3 separate regions of the Homo sapiens genome follow, and regions 2 and 3 are each linked to region 1. Evidence: promoter capture Hi-C in 16 types of primary human blood cells and fetal thymus (Javierre and others, 2016). All regions are on one chromosome and are shown on one strand. The core of a region is centred on a gene start or on the middle of the fragment in contact, and the rest is flanking DNA. Distances in the headings are between cores, read along the strand shown. Region 1 holds the start of MKRN1 (makorin ring finger protein 1). Region 2 holds the start of DENND11 (DENN domain containing 11). Region 3 holds the start of FMC1 (formation of mitochondrial complex V assembly factor 1).

Region 1 (4,369 bases), core at 1,342-3,841:
CAAAAAAAAATTAGCCTGGGGTGGTGGCACGTGCCTGTAATTCCAGCTACTGGGGAGGTTCAAGCAGGAGGATTGCTTGAGCCTGGGAGGTGGAGGCTGCAATGAGCCAAGACACTGCCACTGCATTCCAGCCTAGGGGACAGAGCGAGACCCTATCTCAAAAAATACAAATAAATACAAATAAAAATCAAGAAAAGAGTTTTTTGAAAAATTAAAAATTAAACACTTGTTTTTTTGTGTATTATTTCAACTACCAGAACACTTATCTGCCATTATAGAAGCACTCTAATAAAGAGGGGTCTAAATTCAAATTACAACTTCTCTTTAAGTATTAACTGTTCTAACCTCACACACTCAAGGTAACTCAAGGTAGCAGATGCAATGAGCATTTCTGTTTCTTAGTATTGCTCTAATAAAAGATATGAAAAACAGCCTGGTGGTGGCAGCATAACACAGTTTCTGAGGAAAGGTATAAAACACAATGAAAACCCCAGGAGAAACATTAGAAAAAATGTAACCAGTAGGAAAATACAGGTGATTCCGAGCAATTAAAAACATTCTAATCAAAACTTCTAAGTGAAGAAAATAGCTTTAGTCAAATTCCTAGATACAGGAGTGATGTGCTATAGGGAGAAATGAGCACAAACACTAAAACACACCTCTACCTGATTCTTTAGGTGATGTTTACCTAGCAAACATATTGAAAATGTTTATTTATAATACAGTACATACATCTGCACTCTCTTGAACACCTAATATTGTGTCTCCCATTGCTGGCGTGCAATGTTTACTTACTGAATGATTGAATAAGGTAGTTCCAGAAAAAATATACATGTGGCCGGGCGTAATCCCACCTACTCAGGAGGCTGAGGCAGGAGAATCGCTTGAACCCAGGAGGCAGAGGTTGCAGTGAGCTGAGATCTCGCCACTGCACTCCAGCCTGGGCGACAGAGCGACACTCCATCTCAAAAAAAAAAAAAAAAAAGGAAGATACACATGTGTTCTGTTAAGTACTTTGTCTTTGGTAATTTACAAGTTTTGTTTTTTTTTTTTTTAATGAAAGCAGAGGAATCTTACAAAGTTCCTGTTAAAGTGGGTAATTCTAGGTATATGACTTTATCAACATCACTCAAGCATTTACTCAGTATCTGCTCAGGATACTCAGTAACTGAGTATCCTGTTCATGATACTGGAACTGAGGAAAGAAACTGAGGAACTGAGGAAAGAAAGCCCTGCAGATAAAATAGGGCCCTACTCTTCTCAGAGAGCTCAAAGTGAACGATAAGGATCATAGACCGGGTGCGGTGGCTCACGCCTCTAATCCCAGCACTTTGGGAGGCTGAGGCCGGCAGATCACCTGAGGTCGGGAGTTCAAGACCAGCCTGACCAACACGGAGAAAGCCCGTCTCTACTAAAAATACAAAATTAGTCAGGTGGGCATGGTGGTGCACGCCTGTAATCCCAGCTACTAAGGCATCTGTAATGCCAGAGACTGAGGCAGGAGAATCAATTAAACCTGGGAGGCGGGGGTTGTGGTAAGTAGAGATCACACCATTGCACTCCAACCTGGGAAACAAGAGGGAAACTCTGTCTCAAAAAAAAAAAAAAAAAAATGATAGTTGACATTCCTCTATCTAAAGGAGAAAATAGTTTTAAGTAAGAGATCATGTTGGTACCTAGAACAACCGAAAACAATGTCAAACACTAAAACCCCAGACCTATCAAGGAATCTGCACAACAATAAAAAACTGTCTCAAGCAAAAGCTATACAAAAAACCCCCAAAAACTAGTAAATCTAAGCTCTTTCTTTTCTTTCTTTTTCTTTTTTGTTTTTCTTCTGACAGAGTTTCACTTTCGCCCAGGCTGGAGTGAAGTGGTGTGATATTGGCTCACCGCAACCTCTGCCTCCTGGGTTCAAGCAACTCCCTGCCTCAGCCTCCGGAGTAGCTGAGATTACAAGCGCCTGTCACCACGCCCGGCTAATGTTTTTTGTATTTTCAGTAGAGACGGGGTTTCACCATCTTGGCCAGGCTGGTCTTGAGCTCCTGACCTCGTGATCCACCTGCCTTGGCCTCCCAAAGTGCTGGGATTACAGGTGTGAGCCACTGTGCCCGGCCTAATTTTTGTATTCTTAGTAGAGACAGGGTTTCACCATGTTGGCCAGGCTGGTCTCGAACTCCTTACCTCAGGCGATCCGCCCGCCTCAGCCTCCCAAAATGCTGGGATTACAGGCGTGAGCCACCACGCCGACCTAGCCACCCCGACAGGCCGGTTTCAATCTTTTAAAAGATGTAACTAGCACATATAGATCAACTGTAGCATTGTAAAAGGGAAACAGATATTCAAATAATTTGCTCCATGAGTAGAAACTTTAAAATCATCATTCCTGGCAATATTCCACTTTTACAATCCACCGATGAATAAGACAAGTGACCTGAAATTGCGTTTATGCTTTCTACATCCCATTATGTAAAATAATTAAGCTTATCCTTCACACCTTAAATGTATCATATCAAAGGCTGAGAGACCTTCGAAGGTCGCCAGGATAAATGTATCACATCAAAGACTGGGAAGGTTTCAAATTTCACCCTTAATACTACAAGTTCTAATTAGGAATCATTTTTACATACTTGCATATAAATTATACCACCCAGGTGAAAACCGGCATTTCAGTTGATTTATTCAACTGATAGAAAAAGAAAAGCTTACAGTCGCTACTGATCACTATTTAAAAACCGGAAAATAAAAAACGTACAATTAAATGCCCTCTTCTGCGTAGAGCTAGGTAGTTTTTTACAACCATACACATCCATACAACCGCCATCCCTTAATTTTTCTAATATTTTCGTCTCGCATATCAAACCAAAACCAAACCTCTCTCTCTTCCGGGAGCGAAGAGCCCTTTCACTCCCTTCGGAAGATGCGTAAATTTCAAAAGAGGAACATAGCGCTGGGGGAGGGTAATAATCTGCAGCTCAAAAAAACCGCGGGTGGAGAAGACGACCCCGGCCCCCGAACGCCTGCTTCTAAGACAAAGCTCAGCACCGCCAACCTCGACAAACATACAAAGAAGAAATACAAAAGCTTCTTCTCACAGTTGGGCGGAGGATGGGGGGCGGAGGGACGGAGGGACGTGAAAAGACGTTACAAACGGATGGCACGGAGAGAGGAGAGGGCCGGGAGCCAGGCAAGCTCGCTGGGGCCCTCGGCGGGGTGTCTAGGCCCGGAGAGGATCGCTGGGAGACCGGCCTCAAGTGACCACCTCCCGAGCCCCGGGAGCCGGAGGCAGCGGCGGGGGCATCCTTCCAGCGGCAGGGGAGGAGCCAGCCCACCTCTCCCCGATGCGCTCGCAGCCAGCTCAGGCAGCGCTCAGGGAAGTGTAAGCGGCGGTGCAGCCCCGCGGCTCCGCAGTAATCGCGCACCGCCAGGCCTCCGCGGACAGCGCTGAGGGCTCCGCGGCCCAGCGGGGGTTGACGCAGTGACTGGGGGAACGCGGCGGCAGCGGGGGCCGCGAGGGCTGCAGAGATCGAGACAACGCCGGTCCCCGCCCTCCCGCGCCTCTAGCCGCAGGCCGGCCGCCCTCCTCCCTCCCGCGCCGCAGGCTTGGCCCGCGGCCCCCTCCCCGCGCCCGGCGCTCCGCCGCGCAACGTCCTACCTGCAGGTGACCTGTTTAGTCCAGCCGCCGCCGCTGCCGTCGCTGCCGCCGCCCCCTCCGCCCGCCCCCAGGGACGGGGCGGTGACTGTGGGGATCGGGGTGGGGGAGGCTGCTGCCGCCGTCGCCGCTGCCGCTCCTGCTCCTGATGTTGTGGCTGTTGTTCCGGGAGTTGCAGCCTCCGCCATTACTGTTTATCCCACACAGCAAAGGCCCCGGAACTTCCGGGATCACATAGTTCCGGTCCGGCTGCGGGGAGAGGACGGCGAGGCCAGGCGAGGGGAGGGGAAGGACACTGAGGCACCCGTTCGGTCCCCGCCTGCTACGCGTCGCGTATCTGAGCGCTCTCGCCACTTCAACTGCGGGCCCAGAGCATGCGCGCCCGCGGCCCGCCCACGGCGCCGCTCATTGGTGGAGGGGACGTCTCCTCCGGAAAGGGGCGGGGCAAACGGGGGTCTGTACAGGTGTGTCCTAGGCTCGAAACCCCGGCGACGAAAGTCCATAGTTAGCGGCTTTCTTCCTAGCAGAGGCTGATATAGTGGAGCTGGGGCTGGGGACTAGGGACTTGCAGTCGGAAGACCTGGGTTTGAATCTGCACTTTCCCATTTCTCTAGTAATATTTGAGCTAGGTACTTGTTCTATCTGAGCCTCCGTTTCAGCCTCTCTCGAATAAGGATGACAGCAGACCCACATATGGTTGCTGTGAGGATTATATGA
Region 2 (4,369 bases), core at 547-3,046, 1.2 Mb after region 1:
ATCTAGGAATCTCAAATGCGAGTCAACCAGCATGTGTGATGAACACTTAAAAAAAAGAGAAAAGAGCCACTGCATTCCAGCCTAGGCGACAGAGTGAGACACTGTCTGAAAAAAAAAAAAAAGAGAGAGAAAAAAGAATGCATTACATGTAGAAGGAGTCAGCACTACTTCATGAAATGTCTATTTCAGTTACATAAGTACTGTACGTGTATGTGAGCATATTGGTTGTGATGTAAAATTAACTTCACATGATAGATCAGTCAAAAGAGTTTGAAAGCCATGGAATGTGGCAAAGAAACAAGCAGAAGTCACAAAGGCCTGAATTGTCCCCACAAACTCTGTCCCTGCAAATGGAGCTCCACAGTGAATCCCACATTCTTCCTGTGTCCTACAGCTGAGAACCCCAAAATTACCGGCCTGGAACCCATCATCAGCTGCCATACCAGATTCCCCTTCTCCAGATCCTAACCCCTTTTTTTCTCCACTCCATCCCACCTCATCCCAGAAAGCAGCCAATATTTTCCCGCACGAACAGGCACTCCACACTCCAGCAGCTGCCCTGGAGACATTGACAGTCACACCTGGGTTTCCTTAAGCCCTGACACCACGACTCCTGCGATGACACCTCCTTCCCCCAACCCCGAACAGCAGAGCCACTCTCAGAGTCAGAAGTCCCTAGCTGACCCTCCAAGGCTTCCTGGGCGCGCAGGGTCGTTCTTCCACCTTCTGTCCCCCGTGGACTCTCACCTGGAAAACGCACACCCCCCTGCCGGGTGGTTAGGCTAAGATTATGTGGGATAAGACTTTAATTCTCCAAGCATCTCCGAAAGACAGCCTATCCGGGGAGGCTTCTCCTTTAATCAGCCTTCAGCTGAATCCCTCAGCCCCATCCCTTAATGCTCCCGGCGTTAATTCCTCAAAATAATGCAGTCAGAGAAAGTGAACTTGGCCGCTAGGAAAGTTACCCCAGAGGAAGCGACGGGGAGCTAGGGCGAGCGGGGAGCGGGGGACGGGGTGGGGGGCGAGCGGGGAGCGGGGGACGGGGTGGGGGGCGAGCGGGGAGCGGGGGACGGGATGGGGGGCGAGCGGGGAGCTCAGGGCGCTCGCCCGGGGGGTTTCCTCCGCACAACGTGAAAAATCTTCTAGCCCCCAAGAAAAGAAAACAAAACCCAACGTGGCCACAAACCGGATGCCCTGTCACTGAAGTGCGAACACCACTGTGGGGCTGGGACTCAGAGGAGAGGAGGGGAGGGGAGAGGAGGTCGGCGGGGCTGGAACAAAGCCCTCGGGGCCGCTCCGAGAGGCCGCGCGCCAGCACCCAGCTGCGCCCCGAGGGAGAGAGCTGAGGACTGGCCGACCCCCGCCCTTCCCCAAGCCCGGGAGCCCGGGGCCGGCCCTGGTGCGGGGTGCGGGGCCGGGAGGGCAGGTGCGCGCGCAGCGAGCCCCTCCCCCGCGCCCCCAAAGCTCGGGGGCACCCCGACCCTCCCCACGCGCCTGGCCCCGGCGCGGCCCTCACCCGAGCGGGGGTCGAAGGTGACCACGAACACGGCCACCACCTGGTCCTCCTCCACGTCGCCCAGCTCCAGGCGCCCGGGCTGCAGCAGCACCTCCGGGGCGGCCGGCTCCTCGGGCTCCCGCCTCCGGGGCGGCTCCGCGGCCGGCCGGGCGCCCCCGCCGCCGCCCCGGCCCCAGCCTCCCGCCTGCGGCTGCGGGGCCTGCGGCAGGGAGACGGCGGGGCCCTCGGCCCAGCGCAGCAGCGGCGCCGCGTCTCCCTGCTCCACCATGGCTAGGCGAGGCGGAGCCGCGGGCGCGAGGGGCGGGGCGGGCGGGCTGCGGGAACCCCCCTCGCCTGGCCGCGCCAACGCCGCCGCCGCCCGCCGGGTCTGGCGCTGCCCGGGGCCCCGCCGCGGAGGCGCCTTTCCCACGGAGCCAGAGCAGGCGTCCGCGGAGCCGGCTTCGGGAACCGCGAGCCTATTCGGAGGCGCCCGTGTGCACGTCCGTGTGTGGGACGCGTGCGGCCGGAACGTTCATCCTTGCGTCCATACACCTGTGTGCGGGTGGAGGTGCCTTCTCACCTAGGGTTCCGTGGTATAGCTACCACTGTGAGTTTTTATGTCACCATTATTTTTTAAAGTCCGCTGGTCCTGTGGACCGTGACAGATATGTATTACATAATCCTGGATGTGTGGCAGAAGCTGCTTCTAAGCAGAGGAGTGAAGCAGAGGTGCTCTGGCTACCCAGGTGTTTGCAATATACTCATCAATAAACACTGAAAAGGCCATAGGGTTAAAGTTTGGGAATTTTGTTCTTCCTTTTATATTACAAACTGATTAGGATGGAGATTATGAGTTTATTTCCTGGTATATATACAACTTGAGGGTATTAAATTAGGAGGTGCTGGAGCATTTGTGGGACGAGGGATATTCCCTCAGAAGATCAGGAAAAGGAAGTTGCTCAGGGGAGAAAGAGGAAAGTCAGCTCTAAAGCTGATGGCTTTGGAAATGGATTAGGGGTTTTCTGTGAACCCCCATTTTATATTTAAAAATAAATTTTACATGCCTCAATCCTTGAGGTAAATCTAGCAGCTAAGTAACTCTTTAAGAGGAGATGTGTATAAAAATAGGAATAGCTATTAAAATAGAAAGAAGGAGGTGGCAAGAGAAGGAGGTACACAGTTCATCCAGGGTTCAGCAAGGCTCCATGGTTTGCCTGTTCGCAAAAGGACCCAGTAGAGCTATGTGCTGGGTGCTACTCCACGGGATGTTTATGAACCTCCGTGTCCTACACGTCAGCACTGCAATGATAATGTGATTTAACCCCTATCCCTAAGAAGATAATCAATGACTGCCCTAGGCTGCCACTTCTAATCTAAAATCTATGATATAACAATAAAGAATGTACTTATGCAGCATTTTACCCCCAAGAACAGGGTCTACTTTCATTATTTACATATTTAGTTCAGCCTTTCCTGAAAGGTAAAACTTCAGCATAGGAATCTCTTGATTGGATCAGAAGGATGAAGAAGTAGCTGTGGATGTTTGACCAAGTTACTGATGACCTCCAGAGCTCATCCCTTGGAGCACTGACAGCAAATAAGTCAAGACGGAGCACAGTAGAGATCCATCTCTGAGAATGTCTCCTCCATACCTGCTCATTTCTTCCCAGTGAGGCACTGTGTGTGTGTGTGTGTGTGTGTGTATGTATGTATGTGATGTGGGAGAGGCAGAAACAGACATACACACATACATACACACACAGAGACAGACAGAGAGAGAGAGAGATCTTATTTCTGTGGCCGGGGGCGGTGGGGCTGGCCTTGGTGCAGGTCACACAGGTGACCCATTACCTGTTCTAATCTTAGGGACTCCGGGAATGACCACAGCCCAACTGTGACTAACAGAGAAAAGGTCAGACTAGTGGGTCTGTACCATCGTTTTAAAATGTCTGCTCCTTAAAGTATCGGTAGGATATCATCAATCTCTAAATTACTGGGACATCAAATCAGAGATCTATTCCTATTCTAAGTATGCTATGTGTTGTGTGTGTAGACAAGTGGTATGTTTCTACTGTCACAGCTATTTTGATGAATAATCTCTAGTTCTAGCAAATGGGAAACTTTGGCAAGAGAAGCAATTTGTTAAAATCTGTTTGATTTATTCATCAGATAGATTTATAGTAGATTTCAAATTAATAGAATAACCTAGGGGTTTTTATTAATGGCACTAAAGTATCCATGGGTAAAATATGTTGTCACTGATTTGCTTCACAATACCCCAGCACTCACCCTCAATGAAGTTGCAGTTATGAACTAAACAAGACTGTAAAGCCATACATAATTTTTGAAGCTAGGTTATGGATACATAAGGACTCATTATAGTATTTTCTCTATTTTTGGTATGTTTGAACATTTCCATGAGAAAAAGTTAAACAAAAAGGAGGAAAGGGTTAATAACAGACTCCTAGGCTTTAAAGCAGCCTCCAGGCTTTATTTACTTAGCCCGTAATCCTTCCTTGGAATTCTGTTGTGCCGGCAGTGCCACCCATGAGATACAATTTTATGAGCACTTTGAAATGAGAAATGTGATGGGCAAATATCAAGTATTGTTAATGATTTATGTAATTATCATTGGATTCATCGCAGCTGACAAGTGGCTGCTTCTGTACACTCTCTCAGCAGGCAGGGAGGAGATTAGAAGAAGGTCCCCCTTCAAGGTTGCTGGCTTTGCTGACCATCCTTGTCATAGGAACAGAGCTGTGAGGAGTCAGGAGCACTGGAGACCCCTAGTTTCAATGGATTCACATCCACCGCAGCGGCCCCAATCTGGACCTGGTCAGTGTTGCCGCTGCTGATGGATTTGTCCAGGGAGCA
Region 3 (4,369 bases), core at 1,325-3,824, 1.1 Mb before region 1:
TCATCAAACCAGCTTTTTTTCCCACGAACTAGGCACGCCACATGTTTTTTACCTTTTCTTAACTTCAAATCCTATCGCCCTTTTTTTCTTCTTTCTTTACAGACTAGAAGTCTGTGGGCTGTTTGGCATGCAGTACTTTTAAAGTATTCATTAGTGGCCAATATTTAGAAGGAAATCTATAGCATTAAAACAGATTTCCAGAGTTTCCTGAAAAAAAAAAAGGTTTTTAAAGGATTTGCTTTCCTAAAATGGCAACAATCAGTGGAGGTGAGTAATGGCTGCCCCCTGGACAGGTGGGCTAGTTGCTGTCCAGTTCACCAGGTTTCCAACCAAGCCAGCTTTACTCATTAATGAACAATTGATGTTCCATTTGTTTGTCATTCCTGCTCAGTAGCTTATGTCTCCTAGCCACTGGGGCCAGACAGTGCCAATCCCTTTAGGAGCTTCAGACTAAGCTGTTATGACTATGCTACCAAGGAATAAGCCTGGTGAAGAAACAGGCTTTTCTGTTAGGCACAGGGCTTTCGGAGCTGAACAATTTCCCAGTCTGATGGAAGAGACTGACAACTACAGTATGGAGTAGTGGCCATGTACCTACATTAAGAGTTATTTACGATGAGTAAATAAAGGGAGCAACAGGGGACCAGAGGAGGTGAAATGAATAATTTTCACCTTGCCGTATTGACTTCAAGGGCCTGGAGAAGCGTCTAACCTAGACTTCTGGAGTAAGCTGAAGCCCAAAGGGTAAAGAGGCATATTAATACAAATGGTTAAGTTTCAGGCAGAGGGAATATCAGGTAAGGTGTGTGGTGGGGAAGAGACAATGAAAGTGGAGATACCTGGAGCAGAGGGTGATAAGCGAAAAGTGAGAGATGAAGATTAAGGTACAAGCGAGGATCAATTTATGTCGTCTGAGCTTTATCTTAGGGACAATGGGAAGCCCCTGTGATACTATAAGGGTAAGTTTACTGGGACTCCGAAGTGATTTGTTCGTTATACAATTAGGAACAGAACCAAAAAATGAACTGCTAATTTTTAAAATTAATTCCTAATCAATGTACTATTACTTCCCCGCTGTCCCATGTTTATCGCTGACGCACCAATTCAAAGGACACGGCACATGTTTCTTTTTTTTTTTGAGATGGAGTTTCGCTCCTGTTGCCCAGGCTAGAGAGCAATGGCGCGATCTCGGCTCACTACAACCTCCGACTCCAGGGTTCAAGCAATTCTCCTGCCTCAGCCTCCGGAGTAGCTGGGATTACAGGCATGCGCCACCACGCCCGGCTAATTCTGTATTTTTAGTAGAGACAGGGTTTCTCTGTGTTGGTCAGGCTGGTTTCAAACCCCCGACCTAAGATGATCCGCCCGCCTCGGCCTCCCAAAGTACTGGTATTACAGGCGTGCGCCACCACGCCCGGCCTGCGGAAATGGCCTCAACGCTTCAACCGGAAGCAGAAATTGACCGCGGCAGGCGCCATCTAACGGCCGCTGGAGCAAAGCTCCTCCTGGAAATTCGCAACACCGGAAAAGGTCCGGCTGCTTCCGGTAAAAACCCACCAGAGCTGACGTTCAGAGGGCGAGTCTCGAAGATCCGGCCAATTTGCCCAGCGCGCTGTGCTCCGCGACGGCGCATGCCCGCTTTTGCGCAGGCGCGGGGACTACGGCGCAGGCGCGGAGACTATTGCGCAGGCAAGCGCGTACGCAGAAGCGTGCGCGCGCCCGTTCAACGTCCGGAGCATCGGTGCAGTTTCGAGGGTAAAGCCTTTGGCGCGGTGATGTGGACTTTTGTTCTCTAACTACAACTCCCAGCATACGTCACCCCTCACGTGGGCGCTAGGTGTGGTTTCGTGGGATAGGGTAAGGCGAAAATGAAGTGACGATGACGTACCAAAGAGGAAAATAGTTGAATATGTTGTGTGAGCGCGTCGTTTGCAGAAGCCCCAGTGGCCTAATGGATAAGGCATTGGCCTCCTAAGCCAGGGATTGTGGGTTCGAGTCCCATCTGGGGTGGCCTGTGACTTTTGTCCTTTTTTCCCCTTTCTAAACAAAGCGAAATATGCCAACTTTACTTTTTTTTTTTTTAAATGGGAAGTGTGTGTGTGTTTTTACTAGCTGGTGGGCTGCAATTTTCGAGAATCTGCACACACCCATGTCCTTTGTCTGAGCCGCAGGTCCCCTGGGATTTGGGGAGACGTCAATACGTTGAATTTTGATATCCCTTTTATAAATCATTTAAAAATGTCTTCTCAGCGTGTTCCATATCAAATCCACACCCACACCCCCCGCCGGGCCCGCTTCTCCTGAGACTCAGCGGTTGGTCGGCTAACGGGCATCTTCAATGACGCAGTGAAGAAAAGCCCCTGTTTCCCCAAACCCTTGTTCTGGGTTAGAGGTCCTGGTACCTTCAGTTAACAGTCGGGTTTCGTTTGATTTTGTTACGGCGCCCCTGGGCCTTCGATTAATAAGGTTCGGTCAACGGACAAGTGAGCGGTTCCACTGCTCGTCAGTCGATAGGGGGAGTCGGTAGTCTGTCCGACCGTACCATTAGGCGCCTGGGCCGGAGGAGGGGTTTTCAGGGTCGTAGGACGCCGTTGGGCACCACGCTCGGAGAAGGACAGGACAATGGCGGCCTTAGGGTCCCCGTCGCACACTTTTCGAGGACTTCTGCGGGAGTTGCGCTACCTGAGCGCGGCCACCGGCCGACCCTATCGCGACACCGCGGCCTATCGGTACCTTGTGAAGGCTTTCCGTGCACATCGGGTACGGGAGCCATGTCCCGGGTGCTCTACGTGCTGGGGAGGGAGGAAGAGCCGGGTCTGGGCTAGGGTGGGGAGCACGGTGTTTAATTCCTGCATTTCTGAGGCCAACCCTCCCACGGAGCCCTGGTTCTGACCAAACCAACCCAGGCCCTAGGCTCCATGCTCTGGCATAAACTCGGGGACCAAAGGACCAGCGGGGGGGGGCGCAGAGTCGCTCTGGGGACGTCAGCCTGTCCTGCAGAGGGGCGGACCCGTCCCGAAGGATTTCATTGGCTGGTCTGTTGCCTCTGCGGAGGGCAGTCAGGAAAGTGGAATGGAGGATTCAATGCTGGGGATAAAACAATGAAGATGGAGTTGAAGGGTGTACTGTTGCTAGACTTAAAGCCACAGCATCTGGCCAACAATTTCCTCACCCGTCCCCTAGAAAAGTTATTCTAAGAAGCATTTCTTTTTGAGGCGGAAAAGAACAACTGGGCTTTAGGGAAGGAAACTTGCTGCCCTTGAGCAATGTGGGGAAAGGGAGAACGATCAACTGTCGAATTTCTGAGCCACGGACGTCAGAATGTAAAATCTTAGAACTCAAATTCACCTAGTTTTTAAAAGGTGGCAACGTTAGGGTCTGTGCTAGGAACCTGGTCTAAACAGGAAGAATCAGATGCACATGTGTCCTGTCCTTAAGACACTTGCTGCCCACCTAAGGAGCCATACAGTAAAGTACTGAGGATAAATAAGTGCTCAAGGTGTAGACAACAGGGGCTGGGGTATAAAGAAGGGGTAGTTAGGGAAGGTTTTCCGGAGGAAATTAATCAGGGACCTGAAGGCTAATTTGGAGTTAGCAAGTAAATTGGGGTTAGGGTCCAGGTTTAAAAGCTACACAATTGAAAGCCCAAGGGGAGAAAAATTGCCAGTTGAGAGTGGTTTAGCCCTAAGGTGTGGTGGGTGAAGTGGAGGTAGATGAAGTGGTAGGCCGAACAGGAACTTAAACTTTATTGTAAGTGTAATGGGAAGCCATTCTAAGATTGTGATCACCTCCCAGGTTCAAGCGATTCTCCTGCCTCAGCCTCCCGAGTAGTACAGGCAGGCGACATGCGACACCACGCCCGGCTAATTTTGTATTTTTAGTGGAGACGGGGTTTCTCCATGTTGGTCAGGCTGGTCTTGAACTCCTGACCTCAGGTGATCCGCCTGCCTCGGCCTCCCAAAGTGTTGTAATTACAGGCGTGAACTATCAAACCTGGCCCCATTCTAAGATTTTTAAGGAGGTGACATGATTATAGTTGTACCTTATGGGGATAACATTATTACCCTTGAGAGAGACTTGGTAATGGTTCTGAAATTCATGGTACATTCTGGAAATACCACTCTGGAATGCACTTGAGCATAGGGGAAATGGTTTCTGTTTCCTTCAGGCTCACAGCTAACTGAATAACCATCCCATTTTCTCTATCCTTTCCCTCCGGAGAAGGGATTCTATTAGGGAGAAACCTACCCTTTCTCCACAGGGAAAATACAGTGTTCTATTTCATTTGATCTCTTTTGGGTTCTTGTGATCTATTTACTGTTTCCTGTCTATTGCTGACCCTTTTGTCCTCATGATTCAGGCTCAACCG

The links. Contacts are between HindIII fragments. The CHiCAGO score rates a contact against its expected background, and 5 or more counts as called.
Region 2: the fragment with the promoter of DENND11 here is called in contact with a fragment that was not itself captured in region 1 in 1 of 17 cell types (naive B cells); the score reaches 5.1 in naive B cells.
Region 3: the fragment with the promoter of FMC1 here is called in contact with a fragment that was not itself captured in region 1 in 1 of 17 cell types (total B cells); the score reaches 6.2 in total B cells.

What each region holds. Positions count from the first base shown.
Region 1 is chr7:140,475,505-140,479,873 of GRCh38, forward strand. MKRN1 (makorin ring finger protein 1) reads right to left here and starts at 4,001. Exons shown (of 8, transcript NM_013446.4): 1 at 3,656-4,001. The coding sequence starts at 3,840. RefSeq lists silencers at 3,232-3,311, 3,592-3,731, 4,022-4,131 and an enhancer at 3,267-4,107. The HindIII fragment of the contact is 221 bases long and covers 2,482-2,702 here.
Region 2 is chr7:141,700,370-141,704,738 of GRCh38, forward strand. It overlaps DENND11 (DENN domain containing 11), which reads right to left and starts at 1,797. Exons shown (of 9, transcript NM_001080392.2): 1 at 1,517-1,797. The coding sequence starts at 1,784. WEE2-AS1 (WEE2 antisense RNA 1) reads right to left here. Exons shown (of 4, transcript NR_199841.1): 4 at 3,634-4,369. The HindIII fragment of the contact is 7,386 bases long and covers 1-4,369 here.
Region 3 is chr7:139,338,763-139,343,131 of GRCh38, forward strand. It overlaps FMC1 (formation of mitochondrial complex V assembly factor 1), which reads left to right and starts at 2,575. Exons shown (of 2, transcript NM_197964.5): 1 at 2,575-2,760. The coding sequence starts at 2,623. FMC1-LUC7L2 (FMC1-LUC7L2 readthrough) reads left to right here and starts at 2,575. Exons shown (of 11, transcript NM_001244584.3): 1 at 2,575-2,760. The coding sequence starts at 2,623. It overlaps TRR-CCT4-1 (tRNA-Arg (anticodon CCT) 4-1), which reads left to right and starts at 1,938; the gene lies at 1,938-2,010. It also overlaps a transcript of LUC7L2 not described here. RefSeq lists enhancers at 1,756-1,815, 2,126-2,195, 2,226-2,295, 2,551-3,118, 2,566-2,815. The HindIII fragment of the contact is 22,532 bases long and covers 1-4,369 here.